7 separate regions of the Homo sapiens genome follow, and all the other regions are linked to region 4. Evidence: promoter capture Hi-C in 16 types of primary human blood cells and fetal thymus (Javierre and others, 2016). All regions are on one chromosome and are shown on one strand. The core of a region is centred on a gene start or on the middle of the fragment in contact, and the rest is flanking DNA. Distances in the headings are between cores, read along the strand shown. Region 1 holds the start of RAB33B (RAB33B, member RAS oncogene family). Region 2 overlaps TMEM184C (transmembrane protein 184C). Region 3 has its middle 5.3 kb from the start of SETD7. Region 4 holds the start of USP38 (ubiquitin specific peptidase 38). Region 5 holds the start of ELF2 (E74 like ETS transcription factor 2). Region 6 overlaps ELF2 (E74 like ETS transcription factor 2). Region 7 overlaps NDUFC1 (NADH:ubiquinone oxidoreductase subunit C1).

Evidence for each region. The method cuts DNA at HindIII sites, captures the fragments that hold promoters and counts their contacts. A CHiCAGO score of 5 or more calls a contact.
Region 1: a fragment that was not itself captured here is called in contact with the fragment with the promoter of USP38 in region 4 in 2 of 17 cell types (activated CD4 T cells and total B cells); the score reaches 7.2 in activated CD4 T cells.
Region 2: a fragment that was not itself captured here is called in contact with the fragment with the promoter of USP38 in region 4 in 1 of 17 cell types (naive CD8 T cells); the score reaches 5.2 in naive CD8 T cells.
Region 3: a fragment that was not itself captured here is called in contact with the fragment with the promoter of USP38 in region 4 in 1 of 17 cell types (total B cells); the score reaches 10.4 in total B cells.
Region 5: a contact is called between the fragment with the promoter of ELF2 here and the fragment with the promoter of USP38 in region 4, in 1 of 17 cell types (non-activated CD4 T cells). The highest score is 6.0, in non-activated CD4 T cells.
Region 6: a contact is called between a fragment that was not itself captured here and the fragment with the promoter of USP38 in region 4, in 1 of 17 cell types (non-activated CD4 T cells). The highest score is 5.7, in non-activated CD4 T cells.
Region 7: a contact is called between a fragment that was not itself captured here and the fragment with the promoter of USP38 in region 4, in 1 of 17 cell types (non-activated CD4 T cells). The highest score is 8.0, in non-activated CD4 T cells.

Annotation. Positions count from the first base shown.
Region 1 is chr4:139,452,523-139,455,222 of GRCh38, reverse strand. It overlaps RAB33B (RAB33B, member RAS oncogene family), which reads right to left and starts at 1,102. Exons shown (of 2, transcript NM_031296.3): 1 at 779-1,102. The coding sequence starts at 1,027. It overlaps RAB33B-AS1 (RAB33B antisense RNA 1), which reads left to right and starts at 1,182. Exons shown (of 1, transcript NR_159964.1): 1 at 1,182-2,700. RefSeq lists enhancers at 805-854, 1,475-1,814 and a silencer at 1,075-1,404. The HindIII fragment of the contact is 749 bases long and covers 995-1,743 here.
Region 2 is chr4:147,625,729-147,628,428 of GRCh38, reverse strand. It overlaps TMEM184C (transmembrane protein 184C), which reads right to left. Exons shown (of 10, transcript NM_018241.3): 5 at 1-68. Among named protein-coding and RNA genes, the nearest start is that of TMEM184C, 9.7 kb to the right of the region's middle. The HindIII fragment of the contact is 4,389 bases long and covers 1-2,700 here.
Region 3 is chr4:139,560,173-139,562,872 of GRCh38, reverse strand. No RefSeq gene overlaps it. Among named protein-coding and RNA genes, the nearest start is that of SETD7, 5.3 kb to the right of the region's middle. The HindIII fragment of the contact is 1,271 bases long and covers 679-1,949 here.
Region 4 is chr4:143,183,487-143,186,186 of GRCh38, reverse strand. It overlaps USP38 (ubiquitin specific peptidase 38), which reads right to left and starts at 1,270. Exons shown (of 10, transcript NM_032557.6): 1 at 55-1,270. The coding sequence starts at 736. USP38-DT (USP38 divergent transcript) reads left to right here and starts at 1,326. Exons shown (of 4, transcript NR_185979.1): 1 at 1,326-1,679. RefSeq lists silencers at 879-1,128, 1,349-1,398 and enhancers at 450-1,334, 1,335-2,220. The HindIII fragment of the contact is 4,447 bases long and covers 1-2,700 here.
Region 5 is chr4:139,175,951-139,178,650 of GRCh38, reverse strand. ELF2 (E74 like ETS transcription factor 2) reads left to right here and starts at 1,433. Exons shown (of 10, transcript NM_001331036.3): 1 at 1,433-1,684. It overlaps LOC105379412 (a long non-coding RNA gene), which reads right to left and starts at 2,496. Exons shown (of 4, transcript XR_007058273.1): 1 at 2,303-2,496. RefSeq lists a cis regulatory region at 1-96, silencers at 463-842, 853-1,812 and an enhancer at 2,413-2,462. The HindIII fragment of the contact is 9,266 bases long and covers 1-2,700 here.
Region 6 is chr4:139,080,015-139,082,714 of GRCh38, reverse strand. All of the region lies in intron 4 of ELF2 (E74 like ETS transcription factor 2), which reads left to right. Among named protein-coding and RNA genes, the nearest start is that of NOCT, 66 kb to the right of the region's middle. The HindIII fragment of the contact is 209 bases long and covers 1,267-1,475 here.
Region 7 is chr4:139,293,470-139,296,169 of GRCh38, reverse strand. NDUFC1 (NADH:ubiquinone oxidoreductase subunit C1) reads left to right here. Exons shown (of 6, transcript NM_001184989.2): 3 at 210-438; 4 at 1,024-1,127. The coding sequence starts at 372. Among named protein-coding and RNA genes, the nearest start is that of NAA15, 6.7 kb to the left of the region's middle. RefSeq lists an enhancer at 16-579. The HindIII fragment of the contact is 2,778 bases long and covers 1-2,690 here.

The DNA.
Region 1 (2,700 bases), core at 120-2,619, 3.7 Mb after region 4:
TCCACTGTTAGATTCCAACCCCTCAGAACTTCAAACCTGCCCTGGGGCCTATACTACCTTCTCCACTATTACTGTCACTCAGTGTCCCCAGTCCCAGGGACCAAAAATAACGACTTAAAGGGAATAAAGAATTGGGCGTGTGTCTGAGGTGGCATCATGAGAAATGCTTTTGGCAACCTGAGTAGGAACTATCACATATAGAATGTTTCTGCAGGAAAATAGATTTTTCTAAAATCAGTATCATAAAGAAACTACTACAGCAAAACTGTATGCAAGAGAATACCTAAGTACTTCCTCAAAGGCAATAGGCTTTACTTCCACAACATCTAAGGCACTGCTCGAATGAATGTTTAATAACTATTACTGATTAAATGAATTTTCCATTCTCGCGCAATTTCACTGTTTTTCCTCCGTTCATATTTGACTGACTCCCAGCACACGACACACACAGTAAATGGGTCGGTAGATAAGCCCTACACTCCTGAACTCAAAGTGTGGTCCACGGACTAGCTGCACCTGCATCATCAGCGAGATTATTAAATCATAGCCTGCATTTTCAAAAACAAGATCCCCAGGTAAATCGCATGCACAATGAAGTCTGAGAAACGCTGCCTTAGAAGTTTGCAGTATTGCAATCCTTCCAATCCCCAACTCCAATCTCATCAGCGTGAGAAAAAAATGGAGCGCACACACACCGTGCACACGGCCAGCGACCAGCCCACGGTGGGGTTGGGACACCTGTCACCCTGTCCTCCCCAACAGTTCCCCATCCGCTCACCTTGATGCGCTCCCCATCAATCTCCACCGCTCGTTCTCGGAAATCCACCCCTATCGTGGCCTCGGTGCGGTCGGGGAAGCGGCCAGCGCAGAAGCGGTAGGTCAGGCATGTCTTGCCCACATTGGAGTCGCCGATCACGATTATCTTGAAGATGCGGGAGCGGGCAGGAGGCAAAAACCCTGAGGCCCCTGACACTGCCCCGCTGGACGAAAAGCTTGCCTCGAGCGACGACTCCATCTCCTCAGCCATTCCCCCGACCCGCCCCAAACTGAGGCGGAGGAAAGGAGACACAGAAAGGCTGAGAGATTACGCCACCGCAAGAGCGCGCGCCCAGCCGGCCAGTTCGGCTGCGCAACTTCCCAGGAGCCACCGCCCACCAGCCCCGAGCGCGCCTGCGCACCTTCCCGCCCCGCCCTTGCCCGCACAGGTGTGGCACCCGCCCGCCCCGCCGCACGGAGCCGCCTGCCCGCGGCCACACGCCAGGCGTCACTCGGGCTGGCGCCGGTCTACCTAGGCAGGCGTGGGACCTGTCGGGGGCTTCACGGCAGCGCGGAAGGCCAGCCTGCAGAGAGGCTGGGCCCAGCGCCCTGACTGACCCAGCCCCGCCACGTCCAAGGTTCCCGCCCTCTGGAGGAAGCCGCGCAATCACTCCGGGGGCGGGGAGAGACAGACAACTGAGAGGAAGGAGGTACCACGGGCACTCTCTCGCGAGAGGGCCGCAGAGCCGCCTTTGACGGGGGCGTGTACCTGGAGAGCAACGGTAAGGACGGAGCCGACGGCTCCGGCGTCGGGTCGGTTCCGGCATCGACGTATCGTTTGGTCGCCCCAGAGAGGAGACAGGTTTCTTCAGCTTGCCGCTGAGGATGTGGCATCGGCTGCGCTCACCGCCGCCGCCTCTGTGAACTGCGGGAGTTGGGACAGCGGCCAGGGCTAGATGGGTGGGACGCGAGTCCTCGCCGAAAGCTTGCCCTGTGCGGGGCGCACTTGGAGGCGAGCTCTGGGCCGTGGCGAGTTTTGCAGCCTAAGGTCTTGGCAGGCGCATTGCTGTGGGCTGCCGGAGAGCAGGCTGGAGTTCGAGACCGCCCACCGGAGAGCAGGCGAGAGTTCGAGGCCTAGGTACAGCGCATTTCGCTAGGCATCCCCAAGAATATCCGCGTGATCCTTGTGGCCAGAGTTTGTTGAGCTAATATCCCCAGCCCAAACAGTAGAGCACATCACATGTCGGCCACCTGGGAGCGTTGAACCTGGTAGTTACTAGGCGCCCCTGGTGGAAATAAAACTCATTATGCCCTAGTTATGTCTTAGTGCCTGGGTGACGATGATGTAGCGGTTAAAGATTAACTGAGCGCACTTAGAGGTTGTCTTTGTCTACCTAAGGAAAATATCAATAGATTAAACCCCCAACCTTAAAGAATCTCCGTGAATTTTTCTGAGGAAACGTGCAATATTGTCATACAAAAGGCCCCAAATATGCAAACATTGCTTTTTGTTAAAAGTTTGTTTTGTTTTGCAGTGACATCTGTTTGAGCAGATGAATATGCCATTGGGAAAGTCAAGGACTGTCGGAGAGGAGGACATGGCAGACCTTAACTAAAGTGAGGGGGACAGTAGAGCACTAAAAGTTCTAGGAAAGGAGATGAACTGCTTATTCCATCAGATGAAAATATAGTCAGAACAGATGAGTAGTAGAACTTAAACATGCCCGGAGTTGCCAGGAATTTGCAAAAGCCTTGATATAATTCCTGTTGCTGTAGAAAGACTTTCTACAGTCACTAATATATCAAGTTATGTTCACTAGAAAAAAAGTTTACTTAGTTTATAGAAATGGGCTGAAAAATCCTAATTACTTATCTGTGAGGTTATTTTCATGAAGGTTAATCATCCAGAAACTATTAGAGAGCCTCGGAATATATTTCTTCTAA
Region 2 (2,700 bases), core at 120-2,619, 4.4 Mb before region 4:
CGATGGTGGTGAAAGGTCTGACAACTGTGTACTGTAATACACCTAGTTTGCACCTAAACAGCAATACTCTGCAAAAGAAAAAGAACTTAGAATTTCAACTACTCATTTAAATAGCATCAGATTTTCCCCAAAGCCTCCAAATTAAAATCACTTTGATGAATGATACCATATTTACAGTTAATTCTTTCAATGTAGTCATCCTTAATAGCAGTGGCAGAAGAATGTGGATGGCAGGAAACAAATTATCTAAATACCTTTTTTATTTTTTGAGATATAGGATCTTATTCTGTTGCCCAGGGTGGAGTGCAGTGGTGTGAACATGGCTTACTGCAGCCTTGACCTTCTGTGCTCAAGTGATCCTCCCACCTCAGCCTCCTGAGTAGCTGGAACTATATCTGCATACCACCACACCTGGCTAATTTATTTTCTGTAGACATGGGGTCTCACTATGTTGCCCAGGCTACTCTTGACCTCCTGGGCTCAAGTAATCCTCCCACCTCAGCCTCCTGAGTAGCTGGAACTGTATCTGCATACCACCACACCTGGCTAATTTATTTTCTGTAGACATGGGGTCTCACTATGTTGCCCAGGCTACTCTTGACCTCCTGGGCTCAAGTGATCCTCCCACCTCAGCCTCCTGAGTAGCTGGAACTATATCTGCATACCACCACACCTGGCTAATTTATTTTCTATAGACATGGGAGTCTCACTATGTTGCCCAGGCTACTCTTGACCTCCTGGGCTCAAGTGATCCTCCTGAGTAGCTGGGACTGTAGGTGTGTGCCCCCACACCCAGCTATTTTTAAATTTTCTGTAGAGATGTGGTTTCACTGTGTTGCCCAGGCTAGTCTCAAACTCCTGGGCTCAAGCCATCCTCACGCCTGTAATCCCAGCACTGTGGGAGGCCGAGGCAGGTGGATCACTTGAGAGCAGCCTGGCCAACATGGCAAAACTCTGTCTCTACAAAAAAAATAACAAAATTTAGCCGGGCACGCCTGTAATCCCAGCTACTTGGGAGGCTGAGGCATGAGAATTGCTTGAATATGGGAGGTGGAGGTTGCAATGAGCTGAGATCACGCCACTGTATTCTAGCCTGGGTGACAGAGCAAGACCATCTCAAAAAAAAAACACAGTAATCTTTGAAAATGAAATTTAGATACCGGTTCTCTGCATAATATCCTATAAATGGTTTCTCATTTGACAAAGACTCTCATTTAGACAAACTTTAGACAAGCCTCTGATGCCTCTTTTCAACTTGGCTTCATCCTTGGGCCTTGTCCTTGTCCTGTGTCAGTCAATCTAAAAGAATCTTGCTAAGTCATTCCCCAGCCCCCTTTGATATCTGATCACCTTTGACATCCGATCAAATTCCTCAGCACCCACCTTGGATGACTAAGGCCTTGGCCTGCCTTTAGCAAGAATTCTGTTCAGTTTAGTGAGAATCCTCCTAGCCCTGATGTCCCCTCTTCGTAATTCTGCATTCGCTGACCCCCTCAACATGCTCTAGCTATAAATGCCCATTTGTCCTTGTTGCCTTCAGAGTTGAGCACAATCTGTCTCCCTTGATAACCAATCTATATTAATTTGTCATTACTATTCTCTCATGGCCTCCTGTCCTTCTTCCTTCATTGCATTTCCTGAAATAACTAACTATATATTTGTGTCTTAATTCCTAACTCTCCTAACCAAACTAAGTTCCATGAGGTCTATGTCTGTTCTGTGCACTAAGGTATTTCTTTATACTAGCACGTACTTGGTGCTCAACATATATTTGTCAAATGAACACATTAGTAGCTTATTTTTTTAAAAAGCCAGGTAGCTCCCTGTCATTTCAAGGGTGTAAATAGAGACAAAATTTGTCAGGACGTTGTACAAATGGTCCTGTACTGCATAGGAGGCAATGCACCCATTCTTATGTTGTATGTCTACACTGATCACTCTACCTCCATTTACCTTGGCTTGTAACTTCCACCTTATTCCTCATTTATTAGTGAAACTGCCTTTGCAAAATTATGACTGAGACAGTGAAAGAGATAACTTAAACCGACTCCATCTTGTGTCTAACCTCCAAGCTGTCCTTGTTCATTCCTGGGCGTAGGCTGAACTAACTTTGAGAGAAACTTAGTTTATAGTTTCTCCCAAAGCTATAGAAATAGCCCTGCCCCAAAGCAAACCTCCTTGCCTGGGGACTAGATTGCCTTTGTAGGACTAACATTAGCCATAAGATTAGAAATTATGGTTTAGGAGTCATGCAGCTGGAGGCTACAAGATTCTGGCCCTCCCTAAACTGCTCCTAAGATCAGTGCTTGTGATATTTTGCAGACCCTGCATTTGTTGAATCAGCTGGCACCACCCAGATCAATAAACGGGCTCATCTCACCTTGTGGCCCCCACCCAGGAACTGACTCAGTATAAGTGGACAGCTTTGACTCCCTATGATTTCACCTCTCTCCAATCAGCACTCATGGCTCACTGGCTTCCCCCTACCCAGCAAATTATCCTTAAAACTCTGCTCCCCGAATGCCTAGGGAGACTGATTTGAGTAATAATAAAACTCCTGTCTCCCGCACAGCTGGCTCTGTCTGAATTACTCTTTATCTTTTGCAATTCCCGTCTTGATGAATCGGTTCTGTCTAGGTGGCTGGCAAAGTGAACCCCTTGGGCGGTTGCATTAGTGGACATGTCCTATTGATTTTTCAG
Region 3 (2,700 bases), core at 65-2,564, 3.6 Mb after region 4:
CAGAAACACTCTAATCAACCTGTCTTTGTTTGTGACTGAGTGAAGAGGACCACATGGGTATTTTCATTTCTGGATATTGGATTCAAAGCCAGACAGTCCCATTTGGAAAATGAAGAGGACACTTTGCCCTCCATCTATGTTATAGTAGATGGAATCTGCATCCTCAAGGTGGCGTTCCGTTGCCTAAGCTATCATAGCAAAGAGCCAACCTCTCCACTCCTGCACAGAATAGAAATATCTTTGAGCTGAGTGCCCAGGAAAACTTGGATGACTGTATCACAGGACAGGCCACGTGGGTCTTAATATGTCTCTGGTCTCTTTCTCAGAAATCATGGTAGCCTAAGAAGGTTGGCCCACTGTTGATGGCTTGTGAAGCAGAAATGAGGTGCTTTCCCAAGAACTTGAGAACCAGGTTGCTCTCAGAAAGTTTGACTACCAAAATCTGCACACTCAATGGTTTTGACTAGAATTCAGTGGGCATAAACCAAGAGAGTGACTCAATTTGTGACTGAGAAGTTTGAGGATTACCTCAAATTCCCATTAAAGTGACTTGGCTGTAATGCCAGGAAGATAGAGAATGTCATTATGACTTAGAAAGTGTAAATCTGCCTAATGGGCTGTATAGGACGCTGTGTGGAGAATCAGGTTTGGAGAAACTAGAGCACGGAGAAAGAAGCTTGAAGCCTCAGAAGCCATAGGGCCCATCTAAGCAGAGGTGAGTGGGATGGGTGGGCAGCCTCATTCTTTCAGAACACTGTATCAGAGTATTTGTCTTGTGGACCACACAACTAATGTCCTTCATTCTACTCCAGATAACTAAGCAAACTTTTGGATGGAATTTGTCTTCTCAAGTGCATTTATTTATATAGAGAGATCTTTTGCCCTGACAGTGTGAGTATTCTGATCTGTCCATCATAATTCAGGCATACATCTCAGTCTCTCGGGGTCTAGTTAATGTGAGTCCACTTGAGGAAGGTCAAGAGCTGACCCTTGATGAATGTTATGACATTTGTGGTAAATAGGTCAGCTGGAAATACTCCTCTGCCCATCCTGGATATTGTAGTGTCAAAAGAGTATACCATGTACCTGCCCTCTGCAATGTCTACTTTTGCAGAGGACCAATTGCAGGACTCAATAATCTTAATTTTAGCCTAGTAAAGTAATTTTTCAAAAACAATTAGAGAAAATAATATCTATGAAAACACATTTGGTTTTGGTGGCGGTTTGTCTTTATTTTTCAAGTTTCTGCAATCCTATTGTTTTTCTAAAGTAATTTCTAAAACAGATGCCCCTTTGAAAACTATTTCCAATTTTTCTTTGTGTGTGTGTGTGTGTGTGTGAGGGTTTTTTTTGTTGTTGTTTGTTTTTTTGAGATGGAGTCTCACTCCGTGGCCCAGGCTGGAGTGCAGTGCAGTGATGCCATCTCGGCTCATTGCAGCCTCCGCCTCCCAGGTTCAAGTGATTCTCCTTCCTCAGCCTCCCAAGTAGCTGGGACTACAGGCATGCACCACCAGTTTTTGTATTTTTGTAATTTTTGTATTTTTAGTAGAGACAGGGTTTCACCATGTTGGCCAGGCTGGTCATGAACTCCTGACCTCAGGTGATCCACCTGCCTCTGTCTCCCAAAGCGCTGGAATTACAGGCGTGACCCACCGTGCCTGGCCTCATTTTTTTTTTTTCAATCATTTCACTCAGCAGCTTCACTAGGCCCAAGCCTGACATAAGAGTTTTCATATCCCATAATGCAAAAAACCCCAAGAACTCTGTGAAGGAACAATATTGGCCCAGAGTCGACCCAAACAGGGAGATCTGGGCTGCATCTTCCCTCCCCTCCCCGCCCCAGAAAGTCTAAATTTAGTTTACTGGATACCCTGCAATGACATTAACATGTCATTGCAACATTAACATGTTGCAAAAACAAGAATCAAGCAAAAGAGAAAGAGGAAGCTTAATGTGGCATGAGGTATTTTAATACCATGGCAACTGTGGTGTCTTCTCTATTATTTAATTCACTTCCTTAGGTCAGGTTATTCTGCCCTCTCTCTCTTGCACTTCCTGTTGCTGTAATCAAATCAGGTCACCCTGAATCTGTAAGTCTTCTTCCTGACTGCACTCATGTCTATTTCCAGCAGAATGAATTTTCTCCATTTCTTTCTTTGCTCCCTGGACCTTTATTTGGTGCCCTTGATGTCCCTGCTCTTCCCAGTGCTCCACAAGCTGCAAACGCTTCCCTTTCATCCCCATCTCCTCCCCCACCCGTCTCCTCCTCGCTGCTCCTCTCCCAGCCCCTCCCTCCAGCTTCTGCAGTTGTCACTAACACAGTTAGCCACTTGATTAGTGACTCAGTGATTCAGAACCCAGGAACCTTGGTTCTCCTAAAACTTCCATGCTTCCCTCCCTAGAGTCAAGATAAAGGTTCTCCCCTCACCTGCCTGCCCAGATAGAGCCATTAACGTGAGAGGACTTGAGTATTCAGTTTGTTGGAGTTGCCCTGGCTTCTTCCCATTTCCTTTTTATGTGCCTTTTCCTGGGGCTTCTCAGGCTCTATTTACCTTTTCTCCAGAAAAGGTGGACAGAGAAGGTTTGAGCTTCGAATTTATGTAGCCCAACTCTTCATTTACAGATGGGAAAACGAAGGCCCCCCCCCCGGCCCCCGCAGAACTGAATTGCCCAGTTGCTTGGCTAGTTCTTGGTGGAACC
Region 4 (2,700 bases), core at 21-2,520:
AGAGAGACATATACTGATTTTTTATGAGATATTCTGAAAGATAATGACCCTTACCTGTGGAAGAGATGCTTGCAAAAACTTCTTGCAGGGAAGGCAGTAGTGTGGCAGGCTCGGCCTTCCAGATGTTCTGCAGCAAGTTACTCACTTTTGTCACCTGGGAGACATATTCCCGCAGCTCTCTTTCCTGGGTGGACACGCACTGGAAATGGCCTATCGTTCGAACCAGCTGTTGACAGAACGTGATGGACAATTTCCCCTTGGGGATGCATTGCACAAAGTCGGTCAGAAGGTCGCTCAGTCGGGCACAGAGCTGCGGCTCCGGCCTCTCACACACCATCCGTAACACCTCTACCTGCAGGAGGCTAAAGAGATCCAGCACCGACGGACAGCTCATAATCAGCTTCAGGCCGTTGTGAATGTAGTCCAGGATGGCTACATCCTTCCTGTCCAGAGAGTGGTAGCCCTGATGAAGGAGGCCCAACACGAAGGTCTTGTTGAAGAAGGACTCGAACTCTGGCCGGTGGTATCGTGCGTAGGCCTCCAGCACCTGGTGCCCCACCTGCCGCTGGAAAGGGTCCTGGCCCTCCAGGATGAGCCGGGTCGTCAGGTCAAACATGGCCTCGCACTGCGCCTCGTCTAGCCAGTGCTCCGCCGATTCCACCACCTTCCGCACAATCACCCGCTTGAGGGGCAGGGGATGCGAGGAACTCACAAGGCCCTCCAGGATCTTGTCCATTGTCGCCACGCTGCAAGGCCAGGGCCAGGGGATAAGGAGCGGGTGGCGGCAGCCCCGAGGTGGGGCAGGAGAGCCCCGGGGCGGAGATGAACTTGGAGCGCCGCAGCAGCAGCGCGACGGGCCACGGCCACCGCCGCCTCAGCAGCCACATTTATGGCGCAGGGAGACCCATCCAAGCCGGGGCGGGAGCTAGCGAGCCTGGAGAGCCTAAGAACCGACACCTGCGGCTGGCCTAAGGCGCCAGAGGCCCGTACTCCGCCGCCGCCCCGGGCCCTCGATCCCACTCAGCATCAGCGCCGAGGGGCCTGTCGGGCCCCCCAGCGGCGTCGGCGGGAGCTCAGGGCCCGGGGCTGCTAGCCGGCGGGTGGAGGAAGCACGCCTCCGAGTTCCGGGTCAGGTGTGGGCGTCCAGTCTCCAGCAGGTCGTGAGAAGAAGCCGGTCCTGGGCTGAGTCAGGAGGCGCTGTCACGGAGAGTGCTGGGATCAGCCGGGGAGAAGAGACCGAAGCGACACCCTTTGACCCGGATTTTGAAGTGCCGGCAAACAGGAAGTGAAGGACCTAAGAACCTCCGGAAGGACCGCCCCTCCGCCCCTCTGCCCCTCCGCCCCTCCGCCTGTCCGCCTCTCTCCTTCTCCCTTGTTCCCTCTCTCCCTCCCTGCTCCCCCACCTCCCTCCCGAGTCGTAGACTCCCTTCCCCCCGGCGCTGGGAGTCTCCTTCCCGCCCCGCCGCGCAGGTGCGGCGACGGCCGCGTCACTGGAGAGTGTGTCGAGTCACAGGCGGTCTTCCGCGCGGAGCGTCCCCGGCGGACGCTGCGCAGATGGCTGCGACTGTAGGATTCTTGCCGGCTAGTCTTCGTCGGTTCCGCCTGCGTCAGGTTACTCGTGAAAACTCGAATAAGTGCTATCGATGTGAAATCCGAGGAAAAGAGCATTTGGGGGAAAAGTAAGGAAAACTCAAAACTCGGATTGAGAAGTCTGCCTTGGCTCATTAATCAAGAATTGCGCTTGCGCGCCTAAATGTGACTGCCTTTATCCTGCGATGTCGGTATTGAAGTAAGAGCAATACTGGCGGCGTACCTAGCATTTAGCGACCATCAGTATCAGTAGCAGGCCTCTAGCAAAGAACCAGTTAGTGAGCTTTGTACCATATCGAAAATTATAAGCCGTCCAAAAAAGTGTGAGAGTAAGGAAAATGGCAGATTAGAATCAAAATATTTTTATACCTGTGTCATACAAGGGTACTTTGAAAATAGAAAACCAGGTGGAAATACCACAAAACTTATTGTATATGTTGACACCGAAGATGGTTTACAATAGGGAAGAACAGGTGCAATCATGCTTGTTCTGTTTCATGCCAAATTCCGAAGATTCACAGTAAGAATTTAATCAGAGGTCTTTATATTGGAAAATATTGCCTAACTGTAGCCTGCTTCAGGCTTGGTTAATATAGTTGTGAAACTAGACATTAAGGCCCTGTAATACAGACAAAACTTTAAAGAAATAGGTCATTTAAAATGTCCCGTAGAAAAATGAACAAAATTCTGTTACTTCAGTTTGCTAAATAGTGTTTTGTTTTTTTACCAAGTTACAAACACGATTACACTAATATATTCACACGTCGATTATGGTAGTCTTAAGAAGAGCAGTTTAGAGGAGACAGGAGCTTGAGTAAAAGGGAACTTAAGACCAAGTTGACTCGTAGGAAGATACGGAAGATAAAAGAGAATTGAGGTAATTAATCTATCAGTCATGCTAGAGACAGGAATGATTTTTCCAATAGGAGGTGAAGGTACACAGATGTTTGTCTTTACTGGGAATAATGCCACAGTGGAAGACAAAGGTAATATAGAAAATAAAATATTAAGAAGGAATTAAGTATTAAGAAGGATCGTGGATTTGAGGTGGAGTGGAGGAAATTTGGAATTAATCTTTGTGCTAAGAAACTAACAGGACGAATGAAGATT
Region 5 (2,700 bases), core at 184-2,683, 4.0 Mb after region 4:
TGCAGGAGCCCTGGAGGGGAGCAAAAGGAGCCCCGCGCGCACCGGACAGGCTGTGCTCTTTGTTAAAGAAACAAATACAGAAAACGCCGCGGCGGGGAATGGTGGTGGTGAAGAAATAGACTGAGGCGTTTGTATGCATTAACTGTGCCTACAAAGCCCATTAAAGAGACGCTCCTACACAGGGCAACCCACGGCACCGTGTCATTGGCTTTTGTGCACTTGAAGGCGCGTGAGAGTGCCCCGCTCGAAGGCTCCCCTTTGTGTGAAAGTGTGGAAACCAGAAGCGTGCAGCCACTGCTGGGTTTTCGTTTTCGAATTCGCAGGCACTTGGGCCAAAATACTCCCACACCAGAACACTCTCTCATTCTCGCACCAACAACACTCAGACTTGAGTTACTTCTCCGTTGCGGACCGCGCAAGGAGCGACAATGGCTAGGTGCGAGTGCCCGCAGCTCCCCGGGCAGCTCCAAGGGGCCGCCCGCCGCGCTCCGCAGCTGCGCGCTGGGCCCAGCCACCCGACAGCCAGCAAACGCCGGCACCAACCGCCGCGCGGCCGGGCTGTTGGGCGGGTGGTAATTTCTGGGAATGGGGCGGGGTCGCGGGTGTACTACGCCCGGCTTTTGCTAGCGGGGAGGAGGAGCTGGCGGCGCCGAGGGGCGCGAGGCTGGCGGGGCGGTGCGCCACGTGCGTCACCGGCCGGGGCGGGGCCGGCGTCGCGCTCCTGCCCGAACCCCCACCTTTCACTAAGCCAAGGCTGAGGAGTGGGAACTGGAAAGACCGGGCTAGGAGTTTTTGCAAAACCTCGCCCCCCTGTAACTGTCAGACTGCCCGACTGTGGGGCCGTCTCCGGAGAAGGGCGAGAGTCCTGAGTTGGGGATGCGGTGACGGCGGGGCCTGCGGGGGCCCTGAGTGGCGAGGGTGTGTGCGTGCGGTCCCGGCCGGCGGGGGAAAGCCGGCGGGCGCTGCAGGTGCACGCGCGGCCCCATCGGCCTCACACGCCTGCCCCGTGCGGCAGAGCCCCCTGCACCAATCCGGGGCTGGAGTGGAGAGCGAGATCGGGGAGCCCTGGGCAAGGAGCCGGACAAGTGACGAGCGTCTTTACCTGGGAAGGCGGGTTTGGGAGAAGTTGGGCGAGGAGAAGAGGGCGGGATTCAAGACAGCAAAAGAAGCAGGTTCGGCGGGCTGGTGGGGGCCCGAGGGCGGCGGGGCCCCGCGGGGTATAAATAGCCGGCCCGCGTTTGACAGGCGCTGCGGTGACTGGCGGTGCCGCCCCCGCCCCCCCGCCGCGTGGGGAGGGGAGGAGCACTCTGAGCTGGCGGGGAGGGGGAGGCGGACTCCAGTGTCCTGGTGGAGGCGGCAGGAGGCCGAGGGGGAGGAGCCGAGGCGGGGGGTGGAGGGAGGGGGCCGGGAGCGGAGCGGGGCGGGGGCAACCATTGCTCCCAGCGCCAAGCTCTGTGTCGCCGCCGTCGCCTAGGCGGTTGGGGGTCGGTGGGGCGGCGCGGGCGGGGGTCGCTGCGCGGGGCGGCGAGCCTCTGTTTTGTCTCCTTCTCTCCCTGTGGAGCGGCTCGGGCTGCTGGGGAGGCCCCGGCTCCCTCCGGACGCTCGGCCAACGGCGGCGGCTAGTCCGCGGCCCTGCTGAGAGGGAAAAGGACGCCGCGGTCTTCCCAGGCGTCGCGGAGAGCAGGTAAGAGCGCGGGCAGCCGAGGCTGGTGAGAGGGAGCGCGAAGGGCGCGGCGATAAAGCCTGGCTGTCCCGACTGCCGCCGCCTCCCTCCGCGCCCCCGCCCCGCGCTTGTGTTGTTTGCTTCGGGGTTTGCGGAGGGGTTTTCCGGCGGCTGCGGCGGTGACACCGGCCGGGGGCTGGGGGAAGGGGGCTGAGTGTCCCCAGGCAACGGTCGCGGAGCGGGACTTGGAGAAAGGGGAAGGCGCGCTGCGCGCCTGCCCGCGGGGAGCGCGGGGCGCGGGGCAGGGCTGAGGGAAGAGGTTACAGACCCCGGCGGGGGGGATGGGCCGAGCGCAGCTGGTCTCTCCGTGTTTACATCTCTGCGCGAGTCACCTCTGCCGAGAAGCGGACTGAACTGACCCGCCTCATCCCGCGGGGAGGCCAGGGCGGGGGTCCGGCTCCGGAGGAAGCGCGTCCTGGGAGGGTTTGTGTAGGGCGGGAGTCTGCGGCCGGCGCCGGGGCTGGGCGGCGAGCTCGGGGCGGGACCTGGGAGGCTCCGGCCGCTCTGGGTGGCGGGCAGGCGGGGGGGGGCGCTGGACACCAGTTTCCTTCCCTGTCGTGCCTTATCGCCGCCGCTTACCTTTCCTTCCCGGCGCTGCTAGCTTGCACGACAGGTTGTACTCGGCAGTTCTTTTATTCTCGCTCTCCACGCCGGCACCGTGCTGCCATCTCCCCCTATTCCCCGGGAGGTAGGGAGGCTTTGCTCGGATCGGAATCTGTTTCTTAAGCAAAACAAAAACGGGCTCGTAACAGGCACGTCCAGTGACCGCCTTCTGGATCCTCGCGAAGCTGGTCCTCAGGGACCGCGCGACGGGATGGTCTAGGGGCGCGGAAGGAGGACAGGGAGGGCTCTGCCAGGGCTGGATGCTGACTCTACCCCAGGAGCTTTGTGATCAGGGTAGCCGAGCCCTCTCTTCTGCTCCATTTGGGCATTTTTATTCCATGTCCATAAAGGACTCAAAAAATATTCCGTGACAC
Region 6 (2,700 bases), core at 122-2,621, 4.1 Mb after region 4:
AGATCTTAACAGTCTTCCATCCATTGTTTTTAGGTAAGGGACTTGAAATTAGTAGTTTGCTTGGCAAAACTCTGTGACTCAGTTCGATGGGGGAAATCATGAACACATGTATCAAAATTTAACGGAAGCGCTCTAGGTTCAAAGTCTGAAATAATATGTATGTATTGAGTACAACACAGTGGTGACCAGTCTTTTATTCTATAAAATGTAAAAATATGTGTTTCAGAGGTTCCAAAGGAAAATGCAGTTTACTGAGTAGTGATTAAAACACATCTGTTTGACAGTTGCTTTCTGGTCAGAACAAGAACTTAAGTTTAGTAAGAGAGCACAATGAGAACTTGATTCCTTTGTATATATTGTCCATTACTACAATATGAATTAAGGGATGGAATTTTTGGCTTTATATTATTGGTACTAACGATACGTGAAGTTGTTGGGTCAATGATATTTCTGTGAATATTGAATATGTACAGTTCAAGAGATGTTGTTTCCAGTGGCTGCGAACACACGGAAAGAACCTTAGAATGCCTTTGCATCAAAACTTTGAAAAATACTGTAAAGGTAGGAGGGCTTCACTTTGCCATTGGAAACTATTTTTTCGTAAGCTTTTGGAATTACCGGTGAAACTGAATATGGCCTGTAGGTATTCTCCTTGGAGTATATATGTGTGTATATAAAAGACTGTCTTTGGTTTGAAAAGACAAAAGTTTTGTCTTTTGATAAGGGGTTTTAAAAAGTGCTGTTTTCCAGCTCTACTGCATTTCTGTACTATATACGAATCTTAAAGTTTATGATAATAATGTTCTGTAAAGAATATGTTTTACATACAGTTATTTTCAAGTTATGTCACCAATTATGTTCATGTAATCTGAAGCTCCCTTACAAGCCTTATTTTAGAAGGAAACTTGAGAGAGGTTTGCTCTTTTACCCAAGGTTTATTCAGTGTGTTAAAAGTTAGGGAGGAAAGATGGCCCAGAAGATTAGGAATCATGATTCTAAATTTTTATTGCTGCCAATTTTCAATAGCATTGGTAGGATAATGTTTCTAAAGTTTGTATTTGTGTAATGGACAGAATACCTTTTTATCTCCTTGAGGGAGGTCATCAGGTGTGACAGAGAATTCTTCCTCACAAAGATTTTACAGTCTGGGGAGACAGGTGAAAATCTATATAATGTATAAATGTAAAAAATAGTTCCAGTGATTGCTATAATGGGTTGATGATTAGTGTAGAATGATATTTATACAACTTCTAGAGGAGATAAGCTTTAGGTTAATATTTTCAGCATAACATGTTTCTAAGCAAGTATATAACACTTAATATTATCACTGTCGCTACATGTTAAGGTACATGTTAAGCTCGAATATACTTTTGCTTTTCTTCCTTTTGAGGTGTTAAGTATCACATGTGCATTCCTTTAGCTATAAACATTTATGCTGCCAGAGGAGTTTGAGTAAAGGATGAAATAAATAAGCTTATTTATTAAAACTCACTGTCATTTTACAAAGTATGTTTGTAGTAAAGACTCGACGTACTTTAAAATTTCATGGACAATATGATGTATGAGAACGAGCCTTGACCCTGAAGAGTTGAGGATCTATATCTAGCTGTCACTAAACTAGCTAGTGACTTAACATCTTTAGGGCTTCATTTTTCTCTAAGAAGACAGGGTTGACTAGATGATTGCTAATGACTTTTAAAGCTCTAAAATAAGTGGCTTGGAAATACTTAATGGAAAGGTAGGGCTTCTCCTTGGGTTTTTTTTTTTTTTTCTAATATTACACCATGTGAATGAATATGTCTATAAGTTCGTTATGTAATTGGTAGGTTAACTTCTTTTATCCAGTCTTTGAAAATAAAAATGTGTGCCAAATTGGAACTTGAGGCTCTTTATATGTTTAAGTCTGTAATATAGTCTAATTAATAATTTAGGCTCATTTCTAGTGTATATAGCTTAATATAGGAAAAACAAATGTCTAGCATTGTTACTTTCCTAATATTTATGTTAAAGTATTGTGTATGAACAGTCTGGATTTTCTGGAAGATTTCTGCCTTATTCTCAAGTATACCTTTCTTGACTTTTTCCTTTATTTGTCTTTTCTTATTTTATTTTATTTTTACATTTGCGAAATAAGGTAATCAGAAGTTTTGGTCAACAATGCAGTTATTAAATGAAGGTGAAATTTTTCTGGAAATTTAGCCTAAATATTTTCACTGACAGAAAACAAATCTATTTTATTAAAGTTCATTATGAAATTGAAAATCTCATTTCTGATTTACTATAAATTGGAATATGTAGTCTCAATCTTGAAAAGATCAAATTGAAAAAAAATTAGCAGTATGAAAAGAAGTTAAAAGCAGTATGTGAATAGATACATTAAAATGAAACTCAAGGAATGACACTAGTTTTCTTTTTAAAAAGCTCATTTGAAAATGAATTTAAGAAATTACCCTTCACAATTCATTGCAGCATTGGTACTAAAATTCATGTAAAAACTGAGTTACATGGTCACATCAGTCAGTGTGTAAATAGCCAATCAGAATCATTCAACATAAAACTATTTTAGAAACAAATTTGGTTGGTGGAGAAGGGCAGGCAGCAGAATGTTCTTGATAACTATTTAAAATAATTCCTCATGTTTGATAATTGTTTAAAATGATTCCTTGTGTCATCTATAGCAAAATGTTCAAAAGGATGCAA
Region 7 (2,700 bases), core at 52-2,551, 3.9 Mb after region 4:
ATTAATGCACCGTGCCTGGACCACAGAATTCAATCCAAATGCTAGTTATTATTCAGCACGACACTTTTCTTTCTTCTGGCTCATGTAGGAAAATTTTAATAAACCTCTTGATGAATAGCCGTAGAGATGGGGTGAAAAACCCCCAGAGGACAGAGAATAGGTAAACTCTTTTTTCTTTTAATTATTTTCTTCCTAATTCCACTGTATAGACAGAAGGCTGAGGCCGGGGTGCTAGAGAACCTTGCCGTGCTGGAATTCACGTTGACGCCCCCACGGAGCTCTGCTGCAGAGCCCTCGAGTCCCGCACTTCCGGCCGCCAGGTGGCGCTGGTTCTGTTGCCAACTCGGAGAGACTGAGCTGGGCCACGCAAGATGGCGCCGTCCGCCTTGCTGCGTCCCCTTTCCCGGCTGCTGGCCCCCGCCAGGCTCCCGAGCGGCCGTGAGTATCCTCCTCGTGCAGGCCGACTCGACCCTCAGATTACCCCTCCTAAGGCGGACCCAGCCCACGGGTGCAGGAGGCGGCAGCGGCCCGGGTTCGTCCTGCAGTGACCTTCGCCGGCAGACGACCCAAGGCCCAGCCCACGCCTGTCCCCTACGCAGGGCTCTCTGCTCCCCATCACCCGCCTCTAGCACTTATCCAAGTTCAACCTGACCACTCTTGGCCTTTGTAAATGGACTTTGGGTCCTTGCCTTCCCCACCTCTGTACGTTAGGTCCCGTAAACCGGGAGAGGAGACACCCTCCCCGGGGCGCCCCTTACATGACCACTCCCGAGTCGTCTGAGGGTCCGCAAGCCCTTAAACGAGGCTTTGAAAGCCTCGGACAGGACAGGTGCGTCCTGTCTAACTCGCCAGTGGCCCTGGGCGAGGTACTTGATCTCTTTGAACCTCTATTTCCTTGGCTGTTTAAGTGGGAGATGGGGGAGTTGAAGGGAGAATTAAATGCGATAATACGCACGTAAATGTTAGGGTTTTTTCCCTACAAGGCAGTAAGTTACAAATTTACAGACCCTCTTCCCCTTTCAGCTTCAGTGCGATCAAAGTTCTACGTGCGAGAGCCGCCGAATGCCAAACCTGACTGGCTGAAAGTTGGGTTCACCTTGGGCACCACTGTCTTCTTGTGGATCTATGTAAGTACTTTACTCCCGGATGTCGTGAGACTACACCAGCGTGGTAAGGGAATGACATAACATTGCGAGATTGAATGGTGCTGTTATATGTTGTATGGCAGTGAAACTCTCATAACAGTAGGATATTTATATAATCGCTGATACGTATTTTTCCATAAGAGAAATCCCAAGGACTAAAAAGAAATTAAGATTTCAGCAACATTGAAAAAGTATGATGGGACTAAAATTTCTGTTATTGTTCCTTAACATGGTTTTGTAAGGAATGGCAGTTTTACTAAATAGTAATTATACTTTTTTTTTTTTTTTTTGAGATGGAGTCTCACTCTGTCTCCCAGGCTGGAGTGCAGTGGCGTGATCTCGGCTCACTGAAAGCTCTGCCTCGCGGGTTCACGCCATTCTCCTGCCTCAGCCTCCCAAGTAGCTAGGACTACAGGCGCCCGCCACCACGCCCGGCTAATTTTTGTATTGTTGGTAGAGACGGGGTTTCACCGTATTAGCCAGGATGGTCTCGATCTCCTGACCTATTGATCCGCCCGCCTCGGCCTCCCAAAGTGTTCTGATTACAGGCGTGAGCCACCACGCCCGGCAATAGTAATTATACTTTATTTCTTAATGAGAATTGAGGCTAATTGGAGTTTTATGAAGGTACCTTTTTCAGATGCTGTAAGGACAAACCAGCAGTGTGCAAGTTGTACAAATTGAATCCCAGTAGACTTCCATTAGGTTTTAATCAATGTTTGTATAAATACATTGTTGGAAATTGTACATAGTGTGTAGCGACCTTTTTAAAAAAATTTTCAGGCCGGACGTGGTGGCTCACACCTGTAATCCCAGCACTTTGGGAGGCCAAGGTGGGCGGATCACGAGGTCAAGAGATCCAGACCATCCTGGCTAACACAGTGAAACCTCGTCTCTACCAAAAATACAAAAAAAATTAGCCAGGTGTAGCGAAGGGCGCCTGTAGTCCCAGCTGTTCAGGAGGCTGAGACAGCAGAATGGTGTGAACCCGGGAGGTGGAGCTTGCAGTGAGCCGAGATCGTGCTACCGCACTCCAGCCTGGGAGATACAGCGAGACTCTGTCTCAAAAAAAAAAAAAAAAAAAAAAAAAAAAATTCACACCACATGCTTTACACATAAACTTGCGTTTAATCATTTCAACAACACTACGTGGCACCTACTATTGTTGACCCGTTACAGATAAGAAACACTTGGAGAAACTAGTTTGCTGAACCCAGTTCTCCTGACTTCAGAGGCCACACTATCCTAGAAAAGACTGTGAAACACTGCCTCTGTTGGGATAAAATTTCTTTTTAAAGTTAAAGTATCTGCTATATTAATATTTAAAATTTTGTTTTTTATCTAATGGGTTTGGGACTTCCTCCACTGTCCCCCAGCTCTAAGATATTTTAAATTTTCTTGTTGAAGTGGTTCAGATTTTTGACTTGGAAAGGGGTGAGAGATTTTGAGTCACTTACAACTTAATAGTAACTCATCTTTTTGAATAATGTTGCTTATAATGAATTTTATACATTCTTAATTTAAGGTTTTCTCTAACAAGAAGCTTAATTACTGC